Linked DNA regions of Homo sapiens: regions 1 and 3 are each linked to region 2. The links are contacts of gene promoters, found by promoter capture Hi-C in blood cells and fetal thymus (Javierre and others, 2016). All regions are on one chromosome and are shown on one strand. Each heading gives the region's core, a stretch centred on a gene start or on the middle of the fragment in contact. The rest is flanking DNA. Distances are from core to core; before and after follow the strand shown.

Region 1 (5,025 bases), core at 2,520-5,019, 230 kb before region 2:
GGGCTCCCTGATACAGTGATGGGGTGGGGGTGTAAATGGAGTACACAACCACTTGAGAGGGTGCTATAAGAGGTTTCAGACTTCATAGTTGGATTAGACAATCCTGATAATTCTTTCTGACCCCAAGATTTGAAACCTTTCATCTTTTTTGAATATCAGCATTTTAGGGCTATAAATTTCCCTCAAAGTACTGCTTTACCTACATCCTGTAAATTTTGACGTGTGTTTTCATTTACATTCAGTTTAAAATACTTTCAGATTTCACTTTTGATTTCTTCTTTGATCCATGGGCTATTTAAAAGTATACTATTAGTTTCCAGATATTTGAGGAATTTCTGGATAGGGTCCTGTTCTGTATTTTTTTTCTAATTAAATTCCATTTTGATGATGTAAAACCTTTCAAATTCATTGAGACTTCTTTTATAGTCTCTCTCTCTCCTCTCTCTCTTTTTTTTTTTTTTTTTTTGAGATGGAGTCCTGCTCTGTCGCCCAGGCTGGAGTACAGTGGTACAATCTCAGCTCACTGCAACCTCCACCTCCCAGGTTGAAGTGATTCTCCTGCCTCAGGCTCCTGAATAGCTGGGACTACAGGCGCACGCCACCACGCCCAGCTAATTTTTGTATTTTTAGTAGAGACAGGGTTTCACCATGTTGGCCAGGCTGGTCTCAAACTCTTGACCTCAGGTGATCCACCTGCCTTGGCCTCCCAAAGTGCTGGGATTACAGGCCTGAGCCATCATGCCTAGCTTGTTTTATAGTCTCTCTAAATGATCTGTGGGCTTCTGAAAACAATGTCTGTTCCACTGTGTTATTCCATTACATCAATCATAACCCTGTGATTTCATAGTTTTATAAATGGAGACACACAATAACTTCGTGGGTGATAGCTTACTAATTGATGCCAGGAGGAAAAAAAATCTTTATTTAACTACCAGTTGAGTTTCTTGGGAACTCAGTGACCTTGGTTGTGTCATTCACCATTCTGAGTCTTATTGCTGCCTCTTCCTCATAAGATCATGAGACATATCCTGGCATAGTGCTTAGCACACTGTAAGCACCAAATAATTGATATCTATTTATTATTATGTTACATAAGTAATTGGTGGTTGTTGACAGTAATATCAGTGCATATAAATCATGCTGCCCAAAATAGGAGTCACCAACCAGATGTACCTATTAAACACTTGAAATTCGGGGGGTAGGGGGTAAGGGGAGGGAGAGCATTAGGACAAATACCTAATGCATGTGGGGCTTAAAACCTAGATGACGGGTTGATAGTTGCAGCAAACCACCATGGCACATGTATACCTATGTAACAAACCTGCACGTTCGGCACATGTATCCCAAAACTGAAAGTAACATTAAAAAAAAATAAATAAATAAATAAATAAATAAATAAATAAAAACACTTGAAATGTGACTGTCCCAACATGCTGAAATTCAAAGACCTAGTATAGTAAAAATAATATAAACCATCTCAATAATAATTTTTGTATTGATTACATGTTGAAGTGATACCACTTGGACATATTAGGTTGAATAAAATATAATACTAAAATTGATTTCACTTGTTTCTTTGTACCTTTTGTAAGGTAGCTAATGAGTTTAAAATCACATGTGAGGCCTGGCCCACCTCTCCTTTTTTTCTCTGAATTGGGAGTGTTAAAAATAAAATGCATAGGCCGGGTGCAGTGGCTCACACTCATAATCCCAGCACTTTGAGAGGCTGAGCAGGGAGGATAGTTTGAGCCCAGGAGCTCAGGAGCAGCCTGGGCAACATAGTCAGACCCTGCCTCTACAAAAACAAATTTAAAAATAGCCAGGCATGGTGGTGCGTGTCTGTGGTCCCAGCTTCTTGGGAGGCTGAGGCAGGAGGATTGCTTGAGCCCAGGAGGTCGATGCTGCAGTGAGCCATGATTGCACCACTGCACTCCAGCCTGGGTGAAAAAGAGAGGCTCTGTCTCCAAAAGAAAAGAAAATGCATAAAGTATACAAGAGAAGGCATCTTGCATTTGACTCCGGGAAACTTGTAGTCTAGGTCTCCTGCCAAGATGCTGCTTCCTCTTCATTATTCTATTAGATCAATGCTTGGAATCTGGAAACTGCAGAGCCGGTATTCCATATCCTGGGAGATGCCTCTGATCCTTGGATGTGCATGGCCGTGCTGGCCTCCCAGGCCACACTGCTGACAGTGTCCAGGGATGGTGTGGTCAGTCTGTGGAGCTCAGCTACGGGAAAACTTCAGGGGAAGCAACATATGTCCAGCATCAAAGAAGAAACACCTACCTGTGCCGTCTCAGTCCAGAAGCAAGGAAAGCTTGTTACCGGGTTTAGCAATGGCTCCATCTCTTTGGTAAGCACCTTTACTGACTATGATGTGAACATTAACTCAGCTTGAAAGTGCTCAGATGTGCTAGAAGTTGGGAAAAATAATCTTGCCTTGTATCTTTGTTTTGTTTTGGAGATGAAGTTTCACTTTTGTTGCCCAGGCTGGAGTGCAATGGTGTAATCTCAGCTCACTGCAACCTCCGCCTCTCGGGTTCAAGCGATTCTCACTGCCTCAGCCTTCCGAGTAGCTGGGATTACAGGCAAGTGCCACCACGCCTGGCTAATTTTGTGTTTTTAGTAGAGACAGGGTTTCTCCATGTTGGTCAGGCTGGTCTCAAACTCCCAACCTCAGATGATCTGCCCACCTCGGCCTCCCAGAGTACTGGGATTACAGGCATGAGCCACCGTGCCCGGCCACACGCTTGGCTTCTTAATCGTAGGGATTTGCAGTTCAGCACAGTTCAGGAAACATCTGTTGGCGTCTCTTGGGGACTGACCAATGTGGGCAATTGTTGAAGCTCAGTCCTTCAGGGGATCTCTAAGACATGGTGTGGAATGAGGTTGAGAGTTGCGCCACAGAGGGACTAGGAGTTGGGCTCTATCCACCTGCCCTGTTGGTGGTTGGTGGACGGCTGCTTTCATGGACATTAACATATAGACTGGCTGGGCGCTGTGTCTCACTCCTGTAATCCCAGCACTTTGGGAGGCTGAGGGGGGGTGGATCATTTGAGGTCAGGAGTTCGAGACCAGCCTGGCCAACATGGCAAAACCCTGTCTTTACTAAAAGTACAAAAATTGACCAGGCACGGTGGCTCACACCTGTAATGCCAGCACTTTGGGAGGCCGGGGCAGGTGGATCACCTGAGGTTGGGAGTTCGAGACCAGCCTGGCCAACATGAAGAAACCTCATCTCTACTAAAAAAGCATACAAAAAATTAGCCGGGCGTGGTGGTGAGCACCTGTAATCCCAACTACTTGGGAGGCTGAGGCAGGAGAATTGCTTGAACCTAGGAGGTGGAGGATGCAGTGAGCCAAGATTGCACCACTGCACTCCAGCCTGGACATTAAGAGCAAAACTCCATCTCAGAACAAAACAAAAAACAACAGCAACAAAAACAAAAGCCCAAAAATTAGCCGGGTGTGGTGGTGGGTGCCTGTGATCCCTGCTACTAGGGAGGCTGAGGCAGGAGAATCACTTGAACCCGGGAGGTGGAGGTTGCAGTGAGCCGAGATCATGCCATTGCACTCCAGCCTGGGTGACAGATCAAAACTCCATCTCAAAAAAAAAAAAAAAAAAAGAAAGGAATCATGGTGGTGCATACTTGTACTCCCAGCTACTTGAGAGGCTGATGTGGGAGGATCATTTGAGCTTAGGAGGTGGAGGCTGCAGTGAGCCAAGATTGCACCACTGCACTCCAGCCTGAGTGACAGAGCCAGGCCCTGTCTCAAAAAAATTAAAAAATAAAAAAAAAAAGAAAAGAAAAGAAGAAGAAGAATCATCCCAAATCCCAAAGCTCCACATTTCTGAACCTCATGACCTGTGGTCTTCATGAGTTCTCAAGGTACCAAATACAACAACGAAAGATACTCCCAAATCCTTGGGGTTGTTTTTCTTTTTCTCAAGCCTCTTTGCAGATATTTTGTTTTGTTTTTTGAGACAGGGTCTTACTTTATCTCTCAGGCGGGAGTGCAGTGGCACGATCATGGCTCCCTGCAGCCTCGACCTCCCGGGCTCAAGACGTCCTCTCGCCTCAGCCTCCTGAGTAGCTGGGACTACAGGCGCATGCCCCCATGCCTGGCTAATTATTATTATTATTATTTTGTAGAGGTGGGGGTCTCACTATGTTGCCTAGGCTGGTTTCAAACTTATGGGCTCATTCAGCCTTCCAAAGTGCTGGGATTACAGGCGTGACCCACTGTACCTGGCCAGAATTTGTTTTTTACCTTTTTTTTTTAACTGTTTTTTTGTTTTTTGGTTTTTGGTTGTTTTTTTTTTTGAGACTGAGTCTTGCTCTGTCGCCCAGACTGGAATGCAGTGGCGCAATCTCGGCTCACTGAAACCTCCACCTCCCAGCTTCAAGCGATTCTCCTGCCTCCGCCTCCCCAGTAGCTGGGACTACGGGCATGTGCCACCACGCCCGGCTAATTTTTGTATTTTTAGTAGAGATGGGGTTTCACCATGTTGGCCAGGATAGTCTCAAACTCCTGACCTCGAGTGATCCACCCACTTCGGTCTCCCAAAGTGCTGGGATTACAAGCATGAGCCGCCACACCTGGCCAACTTTTATGTTTTTAATTTAAAAAATTTTTTAGAGACAGAGTCTCAGTCTGTCACCCTGGCTGCAATGCAGTGGCACAATCATAGCTCACTGCAGCCTCCAACTCCTAGGGGCACAAGTGATCCTCCTGCTTGAGCCTCCTGAGTAGCTGGGACCACAGGGGTGTACCACCATGCCCAGCTAAAATTTTTATTAAGAGATGGAGTCAGCTAGGCATGGTGGCTCACGCCTGTAATCCCAGCACTTTGGGAGGCCAAGGTGGGCGGATCACCTGAGATCAAGAGTTTGAGACCAGCTTGGCCCACATGGTGAAACCCCATCTCTACTAAAAATACAAAAATTAGCCGGGCATGGTGGCAGGTGCCTGTAATCCCAGCTACTTGGGAGGCTGAGGCAGGGGAATTGCTTGAACCCGGGA
Region 2 (4,616 bases), core at 878-3,377:
TTTCCAGCTGTTGGGATGCTTGCCAGCCATTCACTGTCACACCTGACCCACCCCTAGCATCTGGGCCAACACTGCTTCTCATCCTGCTGGTCTCAGAAGGTCCCAGATTGGGGAAAGGGATGTCTGGGTCAGTGTAGACAGAATTGCTCTTACAACTGCAAACTGTGCTGCTTTCTGGGATCAGAGATTCCTCACACAAAAATCTCTCAGGTGACAGAAGTGGGCATCCAGAGCTATTCCTAAGACGAGATCCTTTGGGCTGGGTGAACCATGCCCCTGGCTTAGAGGCCAGCTAATCTGGAATCCCAGGTCGGTCATTTGGGGACATCTCTTCCCCAGTGTGTCTCTCAGCACAGGGATTCCATGTCACTTAACAGATGGTAAGATCACAGGGTGACTTTAGTCAGAGGAAAACGCCCTGGAGAACTGTTTAAAACTCTCTAACGGGCCAGGCACGGTGACTCACGCCTCTAATCCCAGCACTTTGGGAGGCGGAGGTGGGTGGATCACCTGAGGTCAGGAGTTCCAGAACAGCCTGGCTAACATGGAGAAACCCCATCTCTATTAAAAATACAAAAAATTAGCCGGGTGTGGTGGCACACGCCTGTAATCCCAGCTACTCAGGAGGCTGAGGCAGGAGAGTCATTTGAACCTGGGAGGCGGAGGTTGCAGTAAGCCAAGATCGTGCCATTGCACTCCAGCCTGGGCAACAAGAGTAAAACTCCATCTCAAAACAAAAACAAAAACAAACCCCAAAAACAACAAACAACAAACAAAAACCTCTGTATAAGGCAGGGTCTCTCATTGGAGCCAAGGTCTGTCATGTGGGGCCGCGTCATTCCTTGCAGTGGAAGCTGACCTGCACATCGAAAGCTGTTTACCAGCATTCCTGGCCTGCACCCACTTAATGCCAACACCAAATGCCTCTCCCTATTTGTGACAACCAAAAATACCTCCAGACATTTCCCAGCGGCCTCAGGGAGACAAAAATCCCCCCCAGGGCTGAGAACCACTATTCTAAGGGATGCCAGCTTTGAAAGAAGCATTAGGATGAAAATTTGTAGGGTTCCGATTTCACGAAGCCTAGGAGAGGGAAGTCTGGATGCTCAGAGCGCAGTAGACTGTCTTGCTTTTAAAACTGTGACCAGCAAGGACCAACTACTCACTGCAAATAACGACACCCACCTAGTCTCACTGCTTACCAGTTTTCTGGAAACTCCTAAACAAGGGCTGCTTGAACAAGCCGCCTTCTAAACGCCCAGCTGGACTAAAAGGCTGGTCTTGTGCAGACCAGGGCAGCCCCCCTGAACCCGCAGCCCTGCAGAGCTCACCCGAACTTGCCAGGTTTAGAAATATTCTCTGTGAAGCCAACTTAGCAGTACTCCCCAGCAGTTAGTTAATTCACCTTCTCCCCGCTGTCAACCCACCAGAAGCCTGCAAGCAAACCTCTAGAAAAATGTAGAAGCAAAACAAACACTTCCTCCTCCCTCACCACGCCCACCCACGGGAAAGTGCCCCTTCGCACTCTCCTCCCACTTCTCAGCCAAGACGCTCCTCTTACCTTCATACCTTGGACAACTGGAAATCGCCACCCATGATGACAGCCCGGGTCACACGAAGGGGGCGAGGTGGGGCGGGGGGAGCTGACCTCAGCACCTTTAGCTTTTGGGAGTCCCTGTACCTCCACAGAGCCACTTCGGAAACTTTAGGGCGCCCCCTCCTCAAGACGATTCGGGAACAAGAGGCCAGGTCCAGCCCAGCGCGGAGGCTGTGTGGCCTTGGGCAGGTCGCTGCAACACTCTGAGCCAGTACCCGCGACCCCCACCCCAGAAGGCGACCGACCTCCTCTGTCGCCGGAGGATACTCACGGGGCCTGAGGCTGCGCGGCGCGCACGCCGTCCCGCGCCGACAGCAGCAGGAGCAGGAGCGGGAGCAACGGCCAGAGCAGGGCGCCGCTCATTTTTCGGCTCCTGGGGGGCGCCGCGCCTGGGGAGGGGGCCGGGCCAGGGCTGGGCCAGGGCCAGGGTCCGAGCGCGGCCGTCCTCGCGCCGCCGCCGGGGGCCCTTTGTTCGCAGCCCCCGCGCAGTGCGCCCGGCGCCATGCGCCCCGCTCCGCGCCCGGCCAAGCTGGGGCAGCCCCGGGCCAGCCCCCTCCCCGGACCCGCCTCGTCTCCGGGACCGCCCCGCTCGCCCCGCTCGCCCCGCTCCTGGGCGCACCCTCCCGGGACGCCTGCTCCGCCCATCTCCGGACCCCGACCCGCCCCGATCCCTTCCGGGGATCGTCCCCTCACTTACTCACCGGACCCACCCGGGCCCTGCCCGATTCCTTCCGAACCCGCCTCCTCACCCCCTACCCGGATTCGCCCCCGGATGCCCCCCTCCCCACCAGCCCCGCCTCGGACCCGACCCCCCACCGCCCCCACTCTCCCTCTCCTCTCCACCCAGCGTCCACTCGGAACCTGTCCCTTCCCTGGCCTCTCCCTCCCTCCCTCCCCAGCCAGCCCCTTATGGCCCCCTCCCCGGGCCCGCCCCTCACCAGGGGCCCCTGGGTCTGGACGCCGCCTGCAACCCCGATCCCACAGGCGCCGCCGTGCCCTAAGCCCTGGCCTGTATCTAGTGCCCAGTGCAGTGCGTACAGCCCAAGGAGCAGAGGACCCTTTGGGGAAACAGTCTAGCCAGGGGTCGAACCTCCCAGACTCACATCTGCCCCAGGTCCCTATCTGTGCTCTCTGCTCCCCTCTCCCCCACCCCCACTGTCCACAAATCCCTTGGGCCCGTCCCCTCTCTCGCTGGGCCTCAGAGTCCCCCTTTCCCCTTCATACAGCAGGGGTGGATGGGCACCCCCTTTCTCTCCAAGAGCAGGGTGTCCCCTCCTGCCCCTCCCCGTGTGGCCACCTCAGTGATGGTCCTGCTGTCCTAGGTCCCACTGGCAGGCGGCACATCCTATACCATGTCCAAGTCCTGGACCCCCTCCTTCCAGTGTGGAACCCCCTTCCCCCAGCTACCAACTGCCCTTCTTCTAAAATTCCAGTGCTGACCACACCCCCTCCTGCCCGGAATCCTCGGGGCTCCCTGTTTATTTTACATTTTATTTTTATGTTTTGAGACCAGAGTTTTGCTCTGTTGCCCAGGCAGGAATTTAGTGGTGCAGTCACAGCTCACTGCAGCTTCAGACTCCTGGAGAGTAGCTGGGACTACAGGTGCAAGCCCGCACCCAGCTAATTTTTATATATTTTTTTTTAGAAACGGAGTCGCACTGTGTTGCCCAGGCTGGTCTTGAGCACTGGGCTCAAATGATCCTCCCTCCTCAGCCTCCCAAAGTGCTGGGATTACAGGTGTGAGCCACCACATCCAGCCAGGGCTTCCCGTTTATTGAGACCAAATCTAAACTCTGGCTTTGATGGCAGAGACCTCAGCCTAGTTCCTCCAACACCCTGTTCTTACTCCACTGCCTGCTTCTGCCTAATCTCTGTCTTCCTCTACCTGCCTCCTTTGCCAGTCCAACTCCTGATCCTTCCAGGAAACTCAAGGGAAGCTTCTCTTGCCCCCTCCCTGCCCCTAGGGATGTGGGTCCTCTGGGGGCTTCTCAGCCCTGTCAACAGCCTTTGGACCCAACACTGATCACCCAGGCAGCACCAAGCCCTGGGCTGGGCAATGAGGACCCTGGGACATACAGGACCTGCTGCCACTGAGCACACAACCCAGAGGGGACGTAACTGATGATGGTGTGTTGGTGTGTGTGTGTGCGTGCACGCGCGCAGGGGCCGGAGTAGATTGAGTAGCCGTCTCTCCTGCCTGGAGAAGAGGAGGAGCTGCCTGCCTCCAAGCTCAGACCAGGCCAACCCCAAACAGGCTGCTAAACTCACATGGAGGTGCAAAAATCTAGCACCAAGAAGCAGCATCTGATCTCACCCTCATCATCGAAGTTTGCCCCATGCCACCCCTCCGGGCCCCTCCAGGCCAACTCTGACTCCTACCTAAGCCAACCTCCACTCCTCAGCCTCCAGGCCAGCCTTTGAGCCCTCCGCCTCCCCCTTGACCATTGGGCTCTGGCCACATTTGCTCCTGAGATACATCAGACCCCCACCCACCACCACCATCTTGGGCCAAGGTGCCAGCTGTCCCCTCTGCCTGGGATGCACTTCCCCGTGGCATCACAAGACCGGCTGCTCTCCTCCACCTTCAGGGTTAGCCCGGAGGTGCCTTCCCTGCCTGCCTGGTTTGTAAGGTCTAAAATGTCAGTGCTGCCTTGGCATGGTTGAGCCACACAGGACCACGATGTCCTGACCGACCGTTCAGCTACTCTTGCCAAATATGCCCCCTGCCTGGCAAGAGAAGCTGCTCTCCACCTGGCTGTCTCACCAAGCAACCAGACCAGCTGCACCCCACCCATCAGCCACAGACTTCACTTCCCTAGCTGCTGAGAAGTTATTGAAACAAGCCATGCCCAGTCGTGGTGGCTCATGCCTGTAATCCCAGTACTTTGGGAGGCCGAGGCAGGTGGATCACCTGAGGCCAGGAGTTCAAGACCAGCCTGGCCAACATGGTGAAACCTCATCTCTACTAAAAATACAAAAATTAGCCAGGTGTGGTGGTGCACACCTGTAATCCCAGCTA
Region 3 (4,903 bases), core at 2,284-4,783, 210 kb before region 2:
CAAAAATGTTCTGACTTTTAAAGTTGGCGATTGGTTGAATTTATATCTATAGTGCATTTGGCATGTGCGTCTTTGGTTAATGAGCTGACTTCAGGACTCACGCTGGCAGTAAAACAATCAACATGTTATAGTTCATCCCTCTCTATTCCTTGGCTCCCAAACTTTTGGGATAAAGATGTGGGTTTTTAATCTTAAAAACTGGAGGCTCTTGGAAGTAGAAAGAGCTGCTGATCTCTCCCTGCTTTGCTTTTGAACTGTCTGCCTTGTGCAAGTTCAACAGTCAAACTGTTTTCATTCCACTTAAGTGGATCTTTCTTCTTTGCCCACAGCCTTCTAAAAGCCCTTCTCAGTCTTCTCAGGCTTTTACTTTAATGCTAGGATAGTCTAAATCTTCAAGGTGGCTATCCCTTCTCCCCTCCGTGGAATTCCTGATAGAGTCTCAATAAAAGCAACCTTAGAAACAGAGGCTTTTGAGCTGAACAAGACCCTACTGCTGTCTTATTCATCCATTTTCCAAACCAGTTTTCCAAGGCAGGTTTTGGTAGTTCTGCAAATGTTAGTGTCAAATTTCATTTAAAAATATTTTAAACTGTAATTTTAAGATGTATGCTTGGATGTATTGGGCAGCAGCTTCTAAGGTGTTGAAGATTACTAAGGTTGGTGCAAAAAGTAACTGTGGTTTTCGCCATTAAAAATATTAAAAATAATGGCAAAAACTGGCTGGGCACAGTGGCTCACACCTGTGGTCCCAGCTCTTTGGAAGGCCGAGGCAGGTGGATCACCTGAGGTCAGGAGTTTGAGACCAGCCTGGACAACATGGTGAAACCCTTCTCTACTAAAAATACAAAAATCAGCCAGGCATGGTGGTGAGTGCCTGTAATCTCAGTTACTCAGGAGGCTGAGTCAGGAGAATCACTTGAACCCGGGAGGCGGAGGTTGCAGTGAGCTGAGATTGTGCCACTGCACTCCAGCCTGGGTGACAGAGCAAGACTCCATCTCATAATAATAATAATAATGGCAAAAGCCTCGGTGGCTCACGCCTGTAATCCCAGCACTTTGGGAGGCTGAGGCGGGTGGATCACTTGAGGCCAGGTGTTCAAGAGCAGCCTGGTCAACATGGTGAAACTCTGTCTCTACTCAAAAATACAAAAATTAGCCTGGTGTGGTGACGTACACCTGTAATTCCAGCTACTTGGGAGGCTGAGGCAGGAGAATGGCTTGAACCCGGGAGGCGGAGGTTGCAGTGAGCCGAGATCGCACCACTGCACTCCAGCATGAGTGACAGAGACTCTGTCTCCAAAAAAAAAAAAAAAAAAAAGTAATGGCAAAAACCACAATTAATTTTGCATCAACCTAATAATTTAGGATTCTTCTGCCATTTTCATTTAACTGATTTAACTGAAGAGCCCAATTAAATTGTGAAGGGAGCCCTGAAAAAATTAGCTACTCTTTGCCACTGCTTCTCTGTGAATCAAGGGCTTACCCAATGCAGAAATAAAGTAGATGTTGAGACCAATTAAGATTTCACCTACAAATTCTGATTTTAAATGCCTGTGTCCATCTCCACAGCCTCAGTGAGAATTGATTGTTTTGTAGATAAATCCTAATTTAAACATTGGAAATGCCTTTTTACTAATAAAATGCTACAACAAATTATTGCTTATATTGGGAGTTTTTGCAGTGTTTATTCATTTGAAAAAGAGTTTGGTTGCTAAGAAAGTTTGACAGTTGGCTGGTCAATGCTTGTAATCCCAGCACTTTGAAAGGCCAAGGTAGAAGGATCACTTGAGCCCAGGAGTTTGAGACCCTGTCTCTCCAAAAAAAAAAAAAAAAATTTTTTTTTAATTAGCTGGGCATGGTGGTGCACACCTGCAGTCCTAGCTACTCAGGGGGCCAAGGTGGGAGGATCACTTGAGCCCAGGAGATCAAGGCTGTAGTTAGCTATGATCGCACCACTGCACTCTAGCCTGGGCAAGAGAGTGAGACCATGTCTCAGAAAAAAAATAAAATAAAATTAAGGGATGCCGAAAAGCTCAGCAATCATGACAAATAATGTTTTCTCTCTCTTTTTTTTCTTGTTTTCTTTTCTTTTGGAAGACAAATAATATTTTGTTATCTTTTTTTTTTTTTTTTGTCAAGGCCTTGCTCTGCTGCCAGACTAGAGTGCAATGGTGCGACCTCGGCTCATTGCACCTCTGACTCCTGGATTCAAGCGATTCTCCTGACTCAGCCTCCTGAGTAGCTGGGACTACAGGCCACCACGCCCAGCTAATTTTTGTATTTTTTGTAGAGACGAGGTTTTGCCATGTTGGCCAAGCTGGCCCTGAACTCCTGACCTCAAGTGATCTGTGCTCCCTTGGCCTCCCAAAGTGCTGGGATTACAGGCATGAGCCACCGTGTGTGGCCTATTATCATATTTTTAAAAATCAAAATGAATTTAAAAATGAATGATGAACAAAACATCAACATTCTATATAAAATTGGTATCTGACCCTGCATTTGCAGGAACTGACCTCACCCTCTTCCTGGCCCTGGGGACATCAAGACACCTCACCCCTACATACATCAGACAAGTGTCTTAGGAAGGTCATATTCCTATATAAGCACACACACCTGTGAGAATTACTAATTGTTAGTTAATATCTTTTTTATTTTTCAGAGAGGGTCTCTCTCTGTCGCCCAGGCTGGAGTGCAGTGGTATGATCATGGGTCACTGCAGCCTTGAACTTATGAGCTCAAGTGATCCTCCTGCCTCAGCCTCCCAAGTAGCTGAAACTACAGATGTGCACAACCATACCTGGTTAATTTTTAAATTTATTGTAGAGAGGGTGTCTCACTATATTGCCCAGGCTGGTCTCCAACTCTTGGGCTCAAGCGATCCCCCCAGTGTGCTGGGATTACATGGCGCCTGGCCATCAGAAATATTTCTAATCTGGCCCTTTACCAAAATATATATATATATTTACCAAATATATACGTGTCTATATATATACATGCACATATATACACATATATACACACACATATATACACATATATATACACATATACATATATACGTATATATGTGTGTATATACACACATACATATGTATATATGTATATATACACATACATATGTATATATGTATATATACACACACATATGTATATACATATGTGTATATGCACATATATACATACACACACACACACATATACTTATGTATATATGCCTACCCTTGGTCTTAAAGCTTGGCTAAATTTAGGGTAAACATCTTTTATATAGGCTTTCTTTTTTTAGAGTAGTTTTAGGTTCACAGCAAAATTAAGTGGAAGGTGCAGAGATTTCCCATCTACCCTATGCACCCCTCATGCACAGCCTCCTCCATCAACATCCCTCACTCTAACAAACGCAGAGCGGTGCATTTGTTACAATGGATGAACTCGCATTGACACTTCCTTATCAGAGGAGAGACAATTTTTTTTTTTTGAGACGGAGTTTTGCTCTTGTTGCCCAGGCTGGAGTGCAATGGTGCGATCTCGGCTCACTGCAACCTCCGCCTCCCGGGTTCAAGCCGTTCTCCTGCCTCAGCCTCCCAAGTAGCTGGAATTACAGGTGTACGCCACCACACCAGGCTAATTTTTGTATTTTTAGTAGAGACAGGGTTTTGCCATTTTGGCCAGGCTGGTCTGAAACTCCTGGCCTCAAGTGATCCACCCGACTTGGCCTCCCAAAGTGCTGGGATGACAGGCATGAGCCACTGCAACTGGCCCAGGATAGACATTTTTGACAAGTATACTTCATAGGTGTGTCCATTCTCCATCACTACTTAGTAAATTATTGCAAAGTTAGAAGCTTAAAATAACATCCACTTCTTATCTTACAATTTCTGCAAGTCAGGAGTCTGGGCATGGCATGACTGGATTCTTTGTTCAGGATCTCACAAGGTGTCAGCCGGACTGGGCTCTCATTGAGAGCCTCAGGGTCTTCATCCAAGCTCCTTCAGATTCTTGGCAGAATTAAGCCCTTCAAAGCTATAGGAGTGGAGACCTCAGCTGCCCCTCTCCATAGGCAGTTTGCAAAACAGCTGCTTCCTTCTTCAAGGCCAGCAGCATTGTATTTCTCTGATGCTTCATCTCTGACCTCAAACTCAGACTCAGACTCAGACTCAGATTGTCTTTTAAAAAAATTTTTTTTTGGCCAGGTGCAGTGGTTCACACCTGTAATCCCAGCACTTTGGAAGGCCCAGGCTGGCAGATCATGAGGTCAAGAGATACAGACCATCCTGGCCAACATGGTGAAACCCTGTCTCTACTAAAAATGCAAAAAATTAGCTGGGCATGGTGGTGCGCGCCTGTAGTCTCAGCTACTCAGGAGGCTGAGGCAGGAGAATCAGTTGAACCCAGGAGATGGAGGTTGCTGTGAGCCAACATCATGCCACTGCACTCTAGCCTGGTGACAGAGTGAGACTCTGTCTCAAAAAACAAAAAAAATTTTTTTAGAGATGAGGTCTTGCTGTGTTGCCCAGGCTGGTCTCAAACTCCTGGCCTCAAGTGATCCGCCTGCCTCTCAAAGTGCTGGGATTACAGGTTTGAGCCACTGCACCTGGCCCAGTAGCACCTTTTTATGTTTGATAAAAATAAGAATATCCAGCCTAGGCAACTTAGTGAGACCCTGTCTGTAAAAAAAATAAAAATAAAAAATTAGCCAGGCATGGTGGCACGTACCTGTAGTCCTGGCTACTCAGGAGGTCAAGGCTGCAGTGAGCTGTGATTGCACCATTGCACTCCAGCCTGGGCAACAGAGCGAGTACCTGTTTCAGAAAATAAATAAATGGAAATAAAATTAAAAGATGTCTTTGTACTATTGTCCTCATGATAAATATACACATGTGTGCACATACATACATGTACACACATG

The links. Contacts are between HindIII fragments. The CHiCAGO score rates a contact against its expected background, and 5 or more counts as called.
Region 1: a contact is called between a fragment that was not itself captured here and the fragment with the promoter of CPAMD8 in region 2, in 8 of 17 cell types (endothelial precursors, M0 macrophages, erythroblasts and 5 more). The highest score is 9.2, in endothelial precursors.
Region 3: a fragment that was not itself captured here is called in contact with the fragment with the promoter of CPAMD8 in region 2 in 1 of 17 cell types (endothelial precursors); the score reaches 6.3 in endothelial precursors.

What each region holds. Positions count from the first base shown.
Region 1 is chr19:16,789,270-16,794,294 of GRCh38, forward strand. NWD1 (NACHT and WD repeat domain containing 1) reads left to right here. Exons shown (of 19, transcript NM_001007525.5): 14 at 2,081-2,353. Among named protein-coding and RNA genes, the nearest start is that of SIN3B, 38 kb to the right of the region's middle. The HindIII fragment of the contact is 2,909 bases long and covers 2,316-5,025 here.
Region 2 is chr19:17,024,683-17,029,298 of GRCh38, forward strand. CPAMD8 (C3 and PZP like alpha-2-macroglobulin domain containing 8) reads right to left here and starts at 2,128. Exons shown (of 42, transcript NM_015692.5): 1 at 1,869-2,128. The coding sequence starts at 1,960. RefSeq lists an enhancer at 2,300-3,208. The HindIII fragment of the contact is 6,852 bases long and covers 1-3,532 here.
Region 3 is chr19:16,816,301-16,821,203 of GRCh38, forward strand. It overlaps LOC124904648 (a long non-coding RNA gene), which reads right to left. Exons shown (of 3, transcript XR_007067150.1): 1 at 4,891-4,903; 2 at 4,711-4,796. It overlaps NWD1 (NACHT and WD repeat domain containing 1), which reads left to right. Exons shown (of 19, transcript NM_001007525.5): 19 at 1-1,653. Among named protein-coding and RNA genes, the nearest start is that of SIN3B, 11 kb to the right of the region's middle. RefSeq lists a silencer at 1,180-1,376. The HindIII fragment of the contact is 605 bases long and covers 3,232-3,836 here.